3 separate regions of the Homo sapiens genome follow, and all the other regions are linked to region 1. Evidence: promoter capture Hi-C in human tissues and cell types (Jung and others, 2019). All regions are on one chromosome and are shown on one strand. The core of a region is centred on a gene start or on the middle of the fragment in contact, and the rest is flanking DNA. Distances in the headings are between cores, read along the strand shown. Region 1 holds the start of PVALB (parvalbumin). Region 2 holds the start of TMPRSS6 (transmembrane serine protease 6). Region 3 overlaps IL2RB-AS1 (IL2RB and C1QTNF6 antisense RNA 1).

The links. The method cuts DNA at HindIII sites, captures the fragments that hold promoters and counts their contacts. A contact is called where the count stands out against the background at its distance.
Region 2: the fragment with the promoter of TMPRSS6 here is called in contact with the fragment with the promoter of PVALB in region 1 in 2 of the 25 tissues and cell types used here (adrenal gland and lymphoblastoid cells).
Region 3: a fragment that was not itself captured here is called in contact with the fragment with the promoter of PVALB in region 1 in 1 of the 25 tissues and cell types used here (H1 embryonic stem cells).

What each region holds. Positions count from the first base shown.
Region 1 is chr22:36,814,506-36,818,408 of GRCh38, reverse strand. PVALB (parvalbumin) reads left to right here and starts at 1,374. Exons shown (of 4, transcript NM_001315532.2): 1 at 1,374-1,464; 2 at 3,174-3,306. The coding sequence starts at 1,404. The HindIII fragment of the contact is 41,984 bases long and covers 1-3,903 here.
Region 2 is chr22:37,107,953-37,111,810 of GRCh38, reverse strand. TMPRSS6 (transmembrane serine protease 6) reads left to right here and starts at 2,098. Exons shown (of 18, transcript NM_001374504.1): 1 at 2,098-2,308. RefSeq lists an enhancer at 3,367-3,858. The HindIII fragment of the contact is 35,568 bases long and covers 1-3,858 here.
Region 3 is chr22:37,176,996-37,181,220 of GRCh38, reverse strand. All of the region lies in intron 1 of IL2RB-AS1 (IL2RB and C1QTNF6 antisense RNA 1), which reads right to left. It overlaps C1QTNF6 (C1q and TNF related 6), which reads left to right. Exons shown (of 3, transcript NM_031910.4): 3 at 1-1,055. Among named protein-coding and RNA genes, the nearest start is that of C1QTNF6, 9.1 kb to the left of the region's middle. RefSeq lists enhancers at 1-734, 735-1,595. The HindIII fragment of the contact is 3,359 bases long and covers 798-4,156 here.

The sequences.
Region 1 (3,903 bases), core at 125-2,624:
CAGGAAGGGCAGCCATCCAGGGCTGAGCTGCAGGAGACAATGTTGACAGCGATGTCAGGGAACTTGAGTTACTGGGCAGCTGGACAGCTGCTCTCCCTGGTCCCCACCACCCAGGGCCACCACAGCCCAAGGCCCTGCCTACCTGCCAATACCTTAAGTTGCAGTCCCCAGGTCCCACTACATGGGACCACTGACGTCATCAACACATCAGAAGGAGACAGAAGCCCAGAGAAGGTCACAACCCAAGGTCACACTGGGACTTAGTGCAGCCCAGGATCTAGAACCCAGGCCTCCTGACTCCCTGTCCAGCGCTCACACACTCTAGAAGCAGCTGGTTGCAGCTTGAAACCTTGGGAACCATGGGGAAGAACACAACGGGTCTCTGGCTGCATACAGATAGGCACCGTGACATTTTTCCAGAGGTGAAGTTCAGACCCCTACACCTGCTTAGGTTGTCTAGAAAGTGTGGTCTGAAGGTGCTACCCTTCTTCCAAACACATATGGGGCTTTCTGGGAGGGAGCATAGCAATTCCAAGCGGACTCTCCCACCCTACTCTGCCCAAAAAAGGTTTATAGGAGTAGGGGGAGTCTGGACCCATGATGCCAGGACCCAGGAGACCAGGAAAGCAAGTAGTTAGTAGAGATCTGAGAAGTGTTCTTCGAAAAATCAAGCCAGCAAAAAAATAAAAAATAAAAGTAAAACATCAAATCAGGTTTTAGAATATGCATCCCTGGCCAGATGTGGGATGGGGCACCCGAAGTGGGCCCCAGCAGCTCCTGCCTGTCCCTGTCCCTGTCCCTGCCACCTCCTCCCTGCGTCGGGTGGGTCAGGTTTCAGGACCTCAGCGCTCAGATTTTGCAGCATAAATTTGCATCCAGGACAGACCAGAGCAGAGGCTGAGGTAGGAGTGGAGAGAGAAAGGGAGCAGGGCCTAGGAGGTCCTGAGGTGCAGGCTGGCCGCTGAAGGTTCAGGATCTTCCCCCACGCGGCAGGACATCCGCCAAGGTTCCCAGATCTGAGACGGCGCACCTCCTGCGTGTCCTTGACGGCAGGTGGACTTTCCAGACCCAGCTGGTGACGCCAGTGCCCCCTAAATCCCAGAGGTGGCCCCTTCCCTCGTGCCCTGGCCGCAGCCCCTGGGATCCCGCGGACCCCTGGCCTGGCGGTGCAGGAGTGGTAGCAGGTCCGCGCGCCTTCTTGCCGGCGGCCGGCGCTGCTCAGCGGCGCGGCTGGACTGAGCCGCTCCCGCTGCGCTCAGAGTCCGGGCCCCTGGCGCCATGCCAGGCCCGGCGGGCGTGCGCCCGGCGCGCAGCACTGCAGCGCTGGTCATATGAGCAGAAATGATGAGAAAAGCACTTTTTAATCTTTTCGCACTTGCTCTGCCCGCTCAAACAGTTGCAGGATGTCGATGACAGACTTGCTGAACGCTGAGGACATCAAGAAGGCGGTGGGAGCCTTTAGCGGTGAGCAAGCGCGCTCCCCTCCCCATCCCTCTCCCCTCGTCCACCGCCCGCGCCCCTGCACTCCGCCGGCCCCGCAGCCGGCGGATCCTCCCCAGCGCGCTTCTGCCCACACTTCCCGCTGGGCGCCGGCGAGGTCGGGGCGGGGGCGTCCTTGGCAGTTCCCAAACTCTGTCCGGGCGAGGCTTGGCGCGGGGAGCGGGCGGGGAAGAGGGCGCCCCGCCTAAGTTACAGAAACTTGAGGGTGCTGAAGGCCCGGTGGCTGGGAGGACTCAGGGTCCGGGACCAAGGGCGAAGACCAGGGTCGGAGGAGAGACCTCCAGGGTCCTTGTACGAGCTCTCTGGACGTCCTCTTTAAGGCACTTAGAGGGGACTGCAGGGGGCATCCTCCTCTCCAAGAGACCCCTTTCCTGGACCCTCATTCTGGACAGGACTTTTCCCGCCAGGCGGTAGCCTTTGTTGGCCCCCTGACTGTCCTAGTTCCTTTACTGAGATTCAGCAACGGACCTGCGGGCGAGGTGACCTTCTGGAGCCGGCGCACAGCTCTGCCTAAGCCCGCACGGGGCATCCTCAGTGCCTCAAACCTCCAGCCTCCTTAGGCGGGCAGGGGAGGGGAACTGGCAGTCTCACCTCTCCCAGCTGCCCGGGACTTCAGCGCTAAGCTGCCCGCCTTCCTCCTCCCCTGTCCTCCAGATGGGGAAATCAGGGAACTGTCTTGGAGAGGACAAGACATTTGCCCAAGGTCACCTAGCTGGGCAGAAGGGGTATTAGAACTGGGTTGCCCAGCCTAGTGTCGGAGGTGGACAGGGCAACTTTCCTTGTCTCTAGCCCTGTGCTGAGGGGAAGAGAACATGACTTCAACAGCCATTCCCTACACACACACACACACACACACACACACAAAATACATGATCTAACATTGTACCCTTCCCCAGGTGTTCTAAAACAGGACCCCAAGATACAGAAAATTGCAGGTAGAAAAGGACCCCCATTTCCTTTCTGCTTTGCACCCCCTCCCCTGGGCACAAGAACCTCTCTGGGAAGCCACCCTCCCAGGGTCCTGGGATAACCCTCTCCCTTCACCTCAAGCCCATGTGGGAAGAAACTTAACTGGGTGTTTCTCGGGAGCCTCCTAACACCCCCTTCCCACTGCCTCCGAAGTGGATTTCTGCGCAGAGCCAGGACTTCCGGGTTTGCCCCTCCTCCTCCCACTGTATGACCTTGAGGGAAACCTGTCCTTTCTATGTCAATTTTCTGGCAACAAAGTCTGTGGCCAAGAAAGAAGGTCAACCCTCCTCCCCCTAACCCCAGGACCATGTTCATGCCCCCTTCAATTCCCCAGCCCACTCCCAACCAGCTGGCACTCAAAAGTCTTCCTGGGCACAAGGTTCTCAGAAGAACAAAAGCCTTTGGTTCTTAGGTGCTGCTCCCATCATCAGCAATGGGTGCAGTGGAGGTGGGGCGTGGGGGCGGGCTTGAGAGCCAGGGAGGTCTGGGTTTGAGCACACCTCTTCCACTCCCAGCCTTGTGACCTTGGACAGGTTATCCTCCCTTGCCCGGGCTCCCTCAGCCCTCCAATGGAGGTGGGTACCTCTCATTCCCCATGACTGGCATGTGGGAATCCATCAACAAATGCCTTGATGCCCCCCATTCTCCCAGGCTTCCCTACCAGCCTTTCTGGTCCTTGTTTGACCCTGCTCTTCCCCCCACAGCTACCGACTCCTTCGACCACAAAAAGTTCTTCCAAATGGTCGGCCTGAAGAAAAAGAGTGCGGATGATGTGAAGAAGGTGTTTCACATGCTGGACAAGGACAAAAGTGGCTTCATCGAGGAGGATGAGCTGGGGTAAGCGGAGGCCTGCAGGGGCTGCCCAGCCCACGGCTGCACGAGAGGGAGTGGGGGCTGGGACTCTAGCTTCCAAGTGTCCATCAGACCTGCCTTTCACTCTGCCTGCTTCACAGAAAGTAACCGTGCGTGAAGGCAGGGCTCCGACCCAGGGCACCAGGGGAGAAGGCTTCCTGGTGCTATTGCTTCGGAAGAGTAAAACCCTCAGCTGAAAGTGCAACTAACTAGGTTAAATGATAGCCACTTAATATTGCTAATGGAATGTTGCTACTTAATAATTTAATGCAAATGAAGAGGCAGTTTTCTTGCTGCCTAACACCATAGGCAGGGCAGAAAGCATTCACTTGAGTATTTCATTGATTTTCATTTGTCTAAAAGACACTTTCCACCTTCCTGCAGCCCCCAGCCCTCTGGTACTAGTGTGGCTGGTGCAATTTCTAGGCAAGCCAGGGATGCAGAACCACCTCTGAGAGTCCAGGGGTCCTTGGAGAAAAGCAGAGAAGGAGAAGGCTGTGGCTAGGAAAATGCATGCCTCCATCTGCAAAAGCATCTCCCACCATAATTCCCTCAGCCACCCGGCCATGTCTACTGACTCAG
Region 2 (3,858 bases), core at 849-3,348, 290 kb before region 1:
CGTTCATCAAGAAGGGGCGAATTTTTTTCATTCGACAGATGGAAGAAGCACCGCTCAGAAGTCAGGGAATCTGCCCAGGTTCCTACAACTAAAAGGGAGCCAGGTAGGGCTGAAAACCGGCGGTCACGGCAAAGCCCGGGCGCGGGGCCCTGTCCCATCCCAGCCAATCCATAAGCATCTCACACTTCACACCCGCTGCACACTCCACTCACACGCCTCACACTCCACACATGCCTCACGCTCCACACACACCTCACACTCCACACACGTCTCACACTACACACACGCTTCACACTCCACACATGCTTCACACTACATACACCTTACACTACACACACACCTCACACTATGCACACACCTCACACTAAACACATGCCTCATATTCCACACATACTGTGAGCATGCACACACACACACACACAGCTGCACACACCTCTCATGCTCCATACACACCTCACACCATACGTACCTCAAAGACACACACACCTTACACTGCACATTCCCAGCACCCACACTGCACACACATGCACAGTCCATATGCCCACACAACACACTTCACACACCCCCCACCCCACACCATACAAACCTCACAGACACACCTCTCACACAAATCTTATACCCCACACACAATCCCTACGCTCCACACACACACACACACACACACACGCACATTCTACACATACATAATCTACACACACAAATTCCAGACTGTCTCTCTTACACACACACTCTGGGACCCATATGCCCACAGCACACAGCATCTCAGGCGTGCACCCCGCATTCTGGCCTCAGGATGTAGACTCGCTGAAAGTCAGCCTTGTCTGAGACAGACGCCCGCTGCCCTGCACGCACCCTAGAAAGCCCTGGCTCCCATCCGGCACTTCGGCACGCATATGGCTCAAACCCATCTCCACAGCAACGCTGTTCCATAGAACAACAACGCAGGTCACACTTGTGACTTAACCTGTCTAATATCCACATGCAACAAGGGGTGTGGTGGCCCGCGCCTGTAATCCCAGCTACTTGGGAGGCTGAAGCAGGAGGATCATGTGGGCCCAGGAGCTCCAGACCAGCCTGGCAACCTAATGAGACCCTGTCTCTGAAAAAAAAAAAAACAAGAGAGCCAGAAGAAAATTGCTTTTAATAATACATTTTATTTATCCCATGATCACCAGTGTTATTTCAACATAAAATCAATATAAAAATTGTTATCGCGTTGGTTGACATCCTGTTTGCACTTGGCCTTGGAAACCTGGTGTGCGTCTCCCCCGTGCAGCTTTTCTCAGTTCAGACTGACTCAAGAGCCACGGGTGACCAGCGGCTACCGTCATGGACAGCACAGCGCTACGGAACCAGGTAGGAATTCATGCTGCGTGCGGTCGCTCATGCCTGTAATCCTAGCGTTTTGGGAGGTCGAGGTGGGTGGAATCACTTGAGGTCAGGAGTTCGAGACCAGCCTGGCTAACATGGTGAAACCCCATCTCTTCTAAAATTATGAAAATTAGCCGGGCATGGTGGTGGGCGCTGTAATCCCAGCTACCTGGGAGGCTGAGGCAGGAGAATTGCTTGAACCCGGGAGGCGGAGGTTGCAGTGAGCCGAAATCACACCACTGCACTCTAGCCTGGGTGACGGAGTGAGACTCCATCTTAAAAAAAAAAAAAAAAAAAAAAAAGAACGAGGTAGGAATTCAAATAATTCCCAGCTAAACAGAAAATAGCATCAAACCCCACCCCTGCCTCCCCTTTCTCCTCTCCAGTCCCCAGAGTATATGGGCCCAGCCTCCTTTTCTCTCTCTCAGGCCAGCAGCTCCTTTAGTCTCGCCTGTCCAGGTAAGCACCTGGACTCACCCTTGTGAGCCCCTGCACTCACCTGCACCGGCCTCTGCACAGTCCCCAGTCCTTGGCTGTCCCTACCTCATGCTCTCGGGGACCAGGGGCTGTAACCAGGCAGGCATGTCACCAGGCAACGGGCCTCGGGGGAGAGCTCAGATCTCCCGCACCTGCCTGCCAGCCTCTGGGGTGCCCATGCGGGGGTGGGGGAAGATGGGGCGGGGCAGGCACTGCCTTCTCCTACCTCCTGCCTGTTTACCTGTACTTAGTCACAGTGCTGTCCAGGACCCAGCAGGAGGAGTTCCATGGAGCCTGAGGCCACAGGCCACAGGGGACAAGGGCCAGACACCCTGGTCATGGCTCTAGGCCATTGATCCAGCCTGGGCTGGCTGGGTGGGGGTGGGGAGGCCTTGGCCTGGACAAACAGAGGCTCCTGAGGCCTGTGTGCAGGCCCGGCACCTATCTGCCGCTCCCAAAGGTAAGCGGGGGCCTCCAGGACAGGGGACCGGGATCTATAAATGACCTAGTGACAGTGTCCACCCTAAGAGCTGGGCCTGGCTCCCTGCAGCCTGAGCCACCTACCCTGCTCCGAGGCCAGGCCTGCAGGGCCTCATCGGCCAGAGGGTGATCAGTGAGCAGAAGGTGAGGGGCCCACAGAGCTGGGGAGGGGAGGGACCACGCAGGGTGACACCAGGTGTGTGGACAGGCACAGCATCAGTGCTGGGTGGTTGGTGGCCTGGGATTCAGGTGGCAGGGACAGGAGGAAGGGAGAGGCCACCCTACCCCTGCCTCGCAGGACTGGACATGCTGCCCCCTCCACACCCGGTACCCCACCTGGGCCTTCTGGTGTAGGAGACAGGCCCGGAGCCCCACATTGCACCTATGTACTGACTTAAGCCCAGGACCCTGGGCTCACAGGCTCAGAGTTGGCATGTATGTGTATGTGTGTTCGTGTGTGTGTCTGTGTAGGAAGGGCGTGCATCTATGAATTTTTGTGTCATGAATAGATGTGCGTATATCCCTCCGCGTGTCTCCATCTGTGTACATCTGTGGGTCTGTGAGTGTGTTTATATGTGTGGAAGGGACCCCCACCCAGTCCCCCACACTCTCAGGACTCTAGGGCCTAATGGTTTCACTGAAAGATGCCCCTATGGCCCTAGCCCAGAGTCCCTGCTCTGCTCTGCTCTGCCCTGGCTGAGGGACCTCGGGTAAGTCATGTTACCTCTCTCTACCTCAGTTTCCCCAGCCATTAAATAGAGTCAGCAAAGTAGGCACCCCAGGCTGTTGGAGGCTGCAGTGGAGTTTGCAGCACTGCCCAGCACAGGGCTGGCACATGGTAGGAGTTCATACGCAGTGGTTGAATCCGGATCTGCATTGCTGGGGGAGTCGCGGCCCCGCCCCAAGGAGCTCAGCCTCCAGCAGGCAGACCCGAGACCCTCCAATGGCCAGAAGGGCAGGAGGGAGTGAGGAGCAGGTGCCAGGGTGGGGTCCATGGTGCTCAGAGCTGGGGGACTGCTTCAGGCCCCTGTGGCAATTGGAGCACAGTCCCCGCTTCCAGGAGTTCAATGTGAGGGGCAAAGAGAGAGTGCCCACAGGTAAGCTGCACATCGCGAGGGGCAGCCGCCCCTTCTAGGGCACTCTGGGAGAGCTGCGAAGAGGTGAGGTCTGAACTGAGGTGACAGGGGCTGCATAAGAGCTGGCCAGGTTGGGAGGTGGGGGCCCAGGCAGAAGGAAGAGTGTGGGGACGCCTGGCCGTGAACAAGCACTGACAGGGCTCAAGGTCCACGAGGGCTCTTGGTGCCGGCTGGCTGCTCTTAATCCATAAATGTTTGCTACCATCCCATTGTTAAAATTTCTCACCAATGGAAGTCCAGTGTCCTTGGGGTGCGACGGGGAAAAGAGAGGGTGGGAAAAAAGGAGGCAGGAGAAGTTGGCCAGGCCACATATGCACACAGCACCTTGGACTTCTGTAGGGAGGAAGGAGCTGGGACCTTGTCATTCATTCATTTAACAATTACTGAGTGTCCG
Region 3 (4,225 bases), core at 1,228-3,727, 360 kb before region 1:
CCCTGCCCCTGCCCTCAGTGACTGGCCAGTCCAGCCCAGGCGGGGAGAGATGTGTACATAGGTTTTAAAGCAGACCCAGAGCTCATGGGGGCCTGTGTTCTGGGTGTTCAGGTGCTGCTGGTCCTCCATTACCCACTGCTCCCCAAGGCTGGTGGGACGGGGTCCCGGTGGCAGGGGCAGGTATCTCCTTCCCGTTCCTCATCCACCTGCCCAGTGCTCATCGTTACAGCAAACCCCAGGGGGCCTTGGCCAGGTCAAGGGTTCTGTGAGGAGAGGACCCAGGAGTGTGGGGGCATTTGGGGGGTGAAGTGGCCCCCGAAGAATGGAACCCACACCCATAGCTCTCCCCACAGCTGATACGGCATCCTGCGAGAAGACCTGCCCTCCTCACTGGGATCCCCTTCCTGCCTCCTCCCAGGGCTCTGCCAGGGCCTTGCTCAGTCCCTTCCACCAAAGTCATCTGAACTTCCGTTTCCCCAGGGCCTCCAGCTGCCCTCAGACACTGATGTCTGTCCCCAGGTGCTCTCTGCCCCTCATGCCCCTCTCACCGGCCCAGTGCCCCGACTCTCCAGGCTTTATCAAGGTGCTAAGGCCCGGGTGGGCAGCTCCTCGTCTCAGAGCCCTCCTCCGGCCTGGTGCTGCCTTTACAAACACCTGCAGGAGAAGGGCCACGGAAGCCCCAGGCTTTAGAGCCCTCAGCAGGTCTGGGGAGCTAGAGCAAAGGAGGGACCTCAGGCCTTCCGTTTCTTCTTCCAGGGTGGGGTGGCCTGGTGTTCCCCTAGCCTTCCAAACCCAGGTGGCCTGCCCTTCTCCCCAGAGGGAGGCGGCCTCCGCCCATTGGTGCTCATGCAGACTCTGGGGCTGAGGTGCCCCGGGGGGTGATCTCTGGTGCTCACAGCCGAGGAGCCGTGGCTCCATGGCCAGATGACGGAAACAGGGTCTGACCAAGTGCCAGGAAGACCTGTGCTATAAACCACCCTGCCTGATCCTGCCCCTGCCTGACCCCGCCACGCCCTGCCGTCCAGCATGATTAAAGAATGCTGTCTCCTCTTGGCGATTCAGACTGGTTCTTTCTGCTCGGCTCCCTCTGCCCACTCTGCGTGCTCCCTGCCCACAAAGAAGCGAGCCCCCAGGTCACTCACGCAGCTGGCGCGCCTTGGAGCTAGTGGCACCAGCATAGAGTCAGCCGTGTCACTCTTTGGTTGTGACCTCGGGCAAGTCCCCATATCTCTGCGCCTCGGTTTCCTGTCTGTAAAATGGGGACAATGGTAATCTACCTCATGCGGTGGACATAAGGATCAGATGCCAGGTTGCTTGATGAGTGCCGCGTTCATGCTCAGCATCTGCTGAGCGCCAACTGTGTGGCGCAGAGCTGAGCACCTGTGCCGTTTATGCTCCAGTGAGGCACACGCAAGCCCCCCCACCTCCCGCCCCGGGGACCCTGTCGCATGTTTTGCGTTTAATTATGATGAGAGAACTGTTGGATCTTCTCTGTGGGAAAACACACACTACTACATTGTACAGTGGAGCATCTTGATGGATCTGGCTTTCTTTTTTTTTTGAGATGGAGTCTCTCTGTCACCCAGGTTGGAGTACAGTGGCGCAATCTTGGCTCTCTGCAACCGCTACCTCCCAGGTTCAAGTGATTCTCTTGCCTCAGCCTCCCGAGTAGCTGGGATTACAGGCGCCCACCACCACGCCCAGCTAATTTTTGTATTTTTAGTAGAGATGGGGGTTTCACCATGTTGGCCAGGCTGGTCTTGAACTCCTGACCTTGTGATCTGCCCACCTCGGCCTCACAAAGTGCCGGGATTACAGGCGTGAGCCACCGTGCCCGGCCTGGCTTTCTAATATGTCGTCAAGTTTGGACTCTCTAGGCTAGCCTGGTGGCTACTCACATAAGTATATTTAAAGTGACCGACGCTGATTTCCCAACAGACTTGACCGGGCATCCTGCTCTATCTGTGTTGTCCCTGGTGTGTTGCATGGCTTTTGGGCACCAGGTGGAAGAAGCATGCTATCGAGAACTGACCATACACCTGTGCCAGGATTCAGCCCAGCCCAGCAGCCCACCTTGCAGGGGCAGACAGGTCTCCGTTTCCTCGGAGGTCCCCTGACACTGAAGGGAGGCTTCCCACTGCACCTCAGGGTCATACAGCTCTTGCCAAAGAGGCTCCTCCCATGTCAGAGGCTACCCCGGGGAGCGATCTCCAGCGTGTTTCTGGGCCAGGCTCTATTTGTACACAATCGGCCTCACCAGCCTTGGGACAAAGGCTGTCCTGAGTGCCAGCCAGGAGCCTTTTGTCGTGTACAGCACAAGGATGAGCCATTTGCTGATCGCTGAGGCAGCAAAGCTTTGAAACTTCTTGCCAAGTGCCTGCAGGAGGATTGAAGCTTATCCTTTGTAAACTGAAGCCAAGTCCCCCAGACAGTTCCAGGCCACATTAGTTCAGGGAACAGAGGCCGGCTGTCTTTGTGTCATCCCATCTGACCCACTGCACACATTCCTCCACCCAGGGCTCAGATGTGGCCTCTGGACTGTCTAGGCCAGGTTTTTTTGCGCTAGGTCTGGGTTTCTGACTCAATGGCACCCGGATGGGTGCTAAGAGCCACTAGATCTTTGTGACAAGCTTCTCCCAATGGGCACGTTCTTGGCGGGGGTTGGTCAAAGGTCCTGGGAAACTGGAGGCCCCCAATCCTGCTGCCAGGTCTGTGGGGCACAGCGTCCCCCAGGAGATCTGCCATGCTTAGTACTGATGACCTCAGCAAGCTGGCTGAATGCCCATGTAATCACCTCTGGGGCAATCCCTTTAAGTTACATATTTTGAAAACGTTTTCCGCCTGAAACGTTAGGCAATGAGGAAGGGGAAGGAAAGGGTGGTCAAGAGGGGAAGCAGCCGTGGGAAATGAAAAATACCCCTGACAAGGAGTGTACCCCAGACAGGGCGACCTCACCCCCACCTTGCCATCGTTTTGTTGAGTGGCCCGGGGCAAGTGCAGGGAAGATTAAGGGGGAAAGGGTGATTAGATGGGAGCCTGAGTTAAAATCAGGGGCAGAGCTGGTGCAGGGATTTTAGCTTGATGGTGTCCCTGGTGACCTGCTGTCTGGATAGATGGGCTGGATCCATTTCATGGGCTAGGTTAGGTTGTGTCTGGAAGTGTTCAGCCTTCCTGGGGAGATGAGCGCAGGAGCTCCTCTGCCACATGGGAGTGTGGGGAAGGGAGTAGATAATTCTTATGTGGCGATCTGGGAAGGCTTCTTAGTGGAGGGGACATGTGGGAAGGGCCTTGGAGGGTGAATAGGAGTCTCAAAGGCACTTGACATGGGGCAAGGAGCTGATGAGAGGAAAGGGTTGCAGGCGGACCAATGTAGTCTATGCTCTGGGCAGTGGGAGAGACCAGTAGGTTGGATAGATGTCTGGAAAGGAGGCAAGGAGAGCAGAATGGGGTTTGAGACAGGAAAGGCCTGGAATGTCAGGCTAAGTCTAGGATTGACCTCTTTCTTAGGTGCTGGGGTGCCTTTAAGAGGCAGATCACTCTGCAGCCAGGTGGAGCACAGGCTGCAGAGGGTGAAGCTGGAGGCAGTGAGGGGGCCTGTGCCATGGTCCAGGGGAGGACATAGAACGCCTAGAAACTGGGTGAATCATGATGTCATCCTGGAGGGGGAGGCATGTCCCCAATTGACTTTGAAGTTGGTGAGAGATTCAACAGCAGAGAGGAGGCAGGAGGGCAGCTGGGGGTTGTTGGGGGGACGGGGTCCAGCTTGGATTAAGGGTCTACCAGGGTGTTTCTCCCACAAGGCTTTCGTTAGCCAGTGGGAAGCCAGCAGGCCGGGGTGCCAGGAGGTGGGCTCCTGTGGCAGCTCTGCCCAGGAGAGTCCCTTGTTTGGCTGGAGGACTGGAGGGTGCTGGGTAAATCGTTTAGCCTTTTTGGGCCCCATATTGTCCTTATCTGTAATATCAGATGCAAAAGCCCTTCTCTCTTACCCCACTGAGGACTTCAGGGTATCCAAGGCTGCAGGGGCATGGCTATTTTCAGAACCCCAAACCAGGACCCATGGAGAAGTGGCAGTGGGACAGAAAACGTGAAATTAGCAGCAGTTGTCCCAGAGAATACTAAGTGTACGGGACAGGGCTGGGGAAGCCTGAGAGAGGTGGTGAGTGCTCAGACGCCGGCATGTATGGAATCTGGAGCCAGGCTGCGGGTTCTGACCCCAGCACACCCT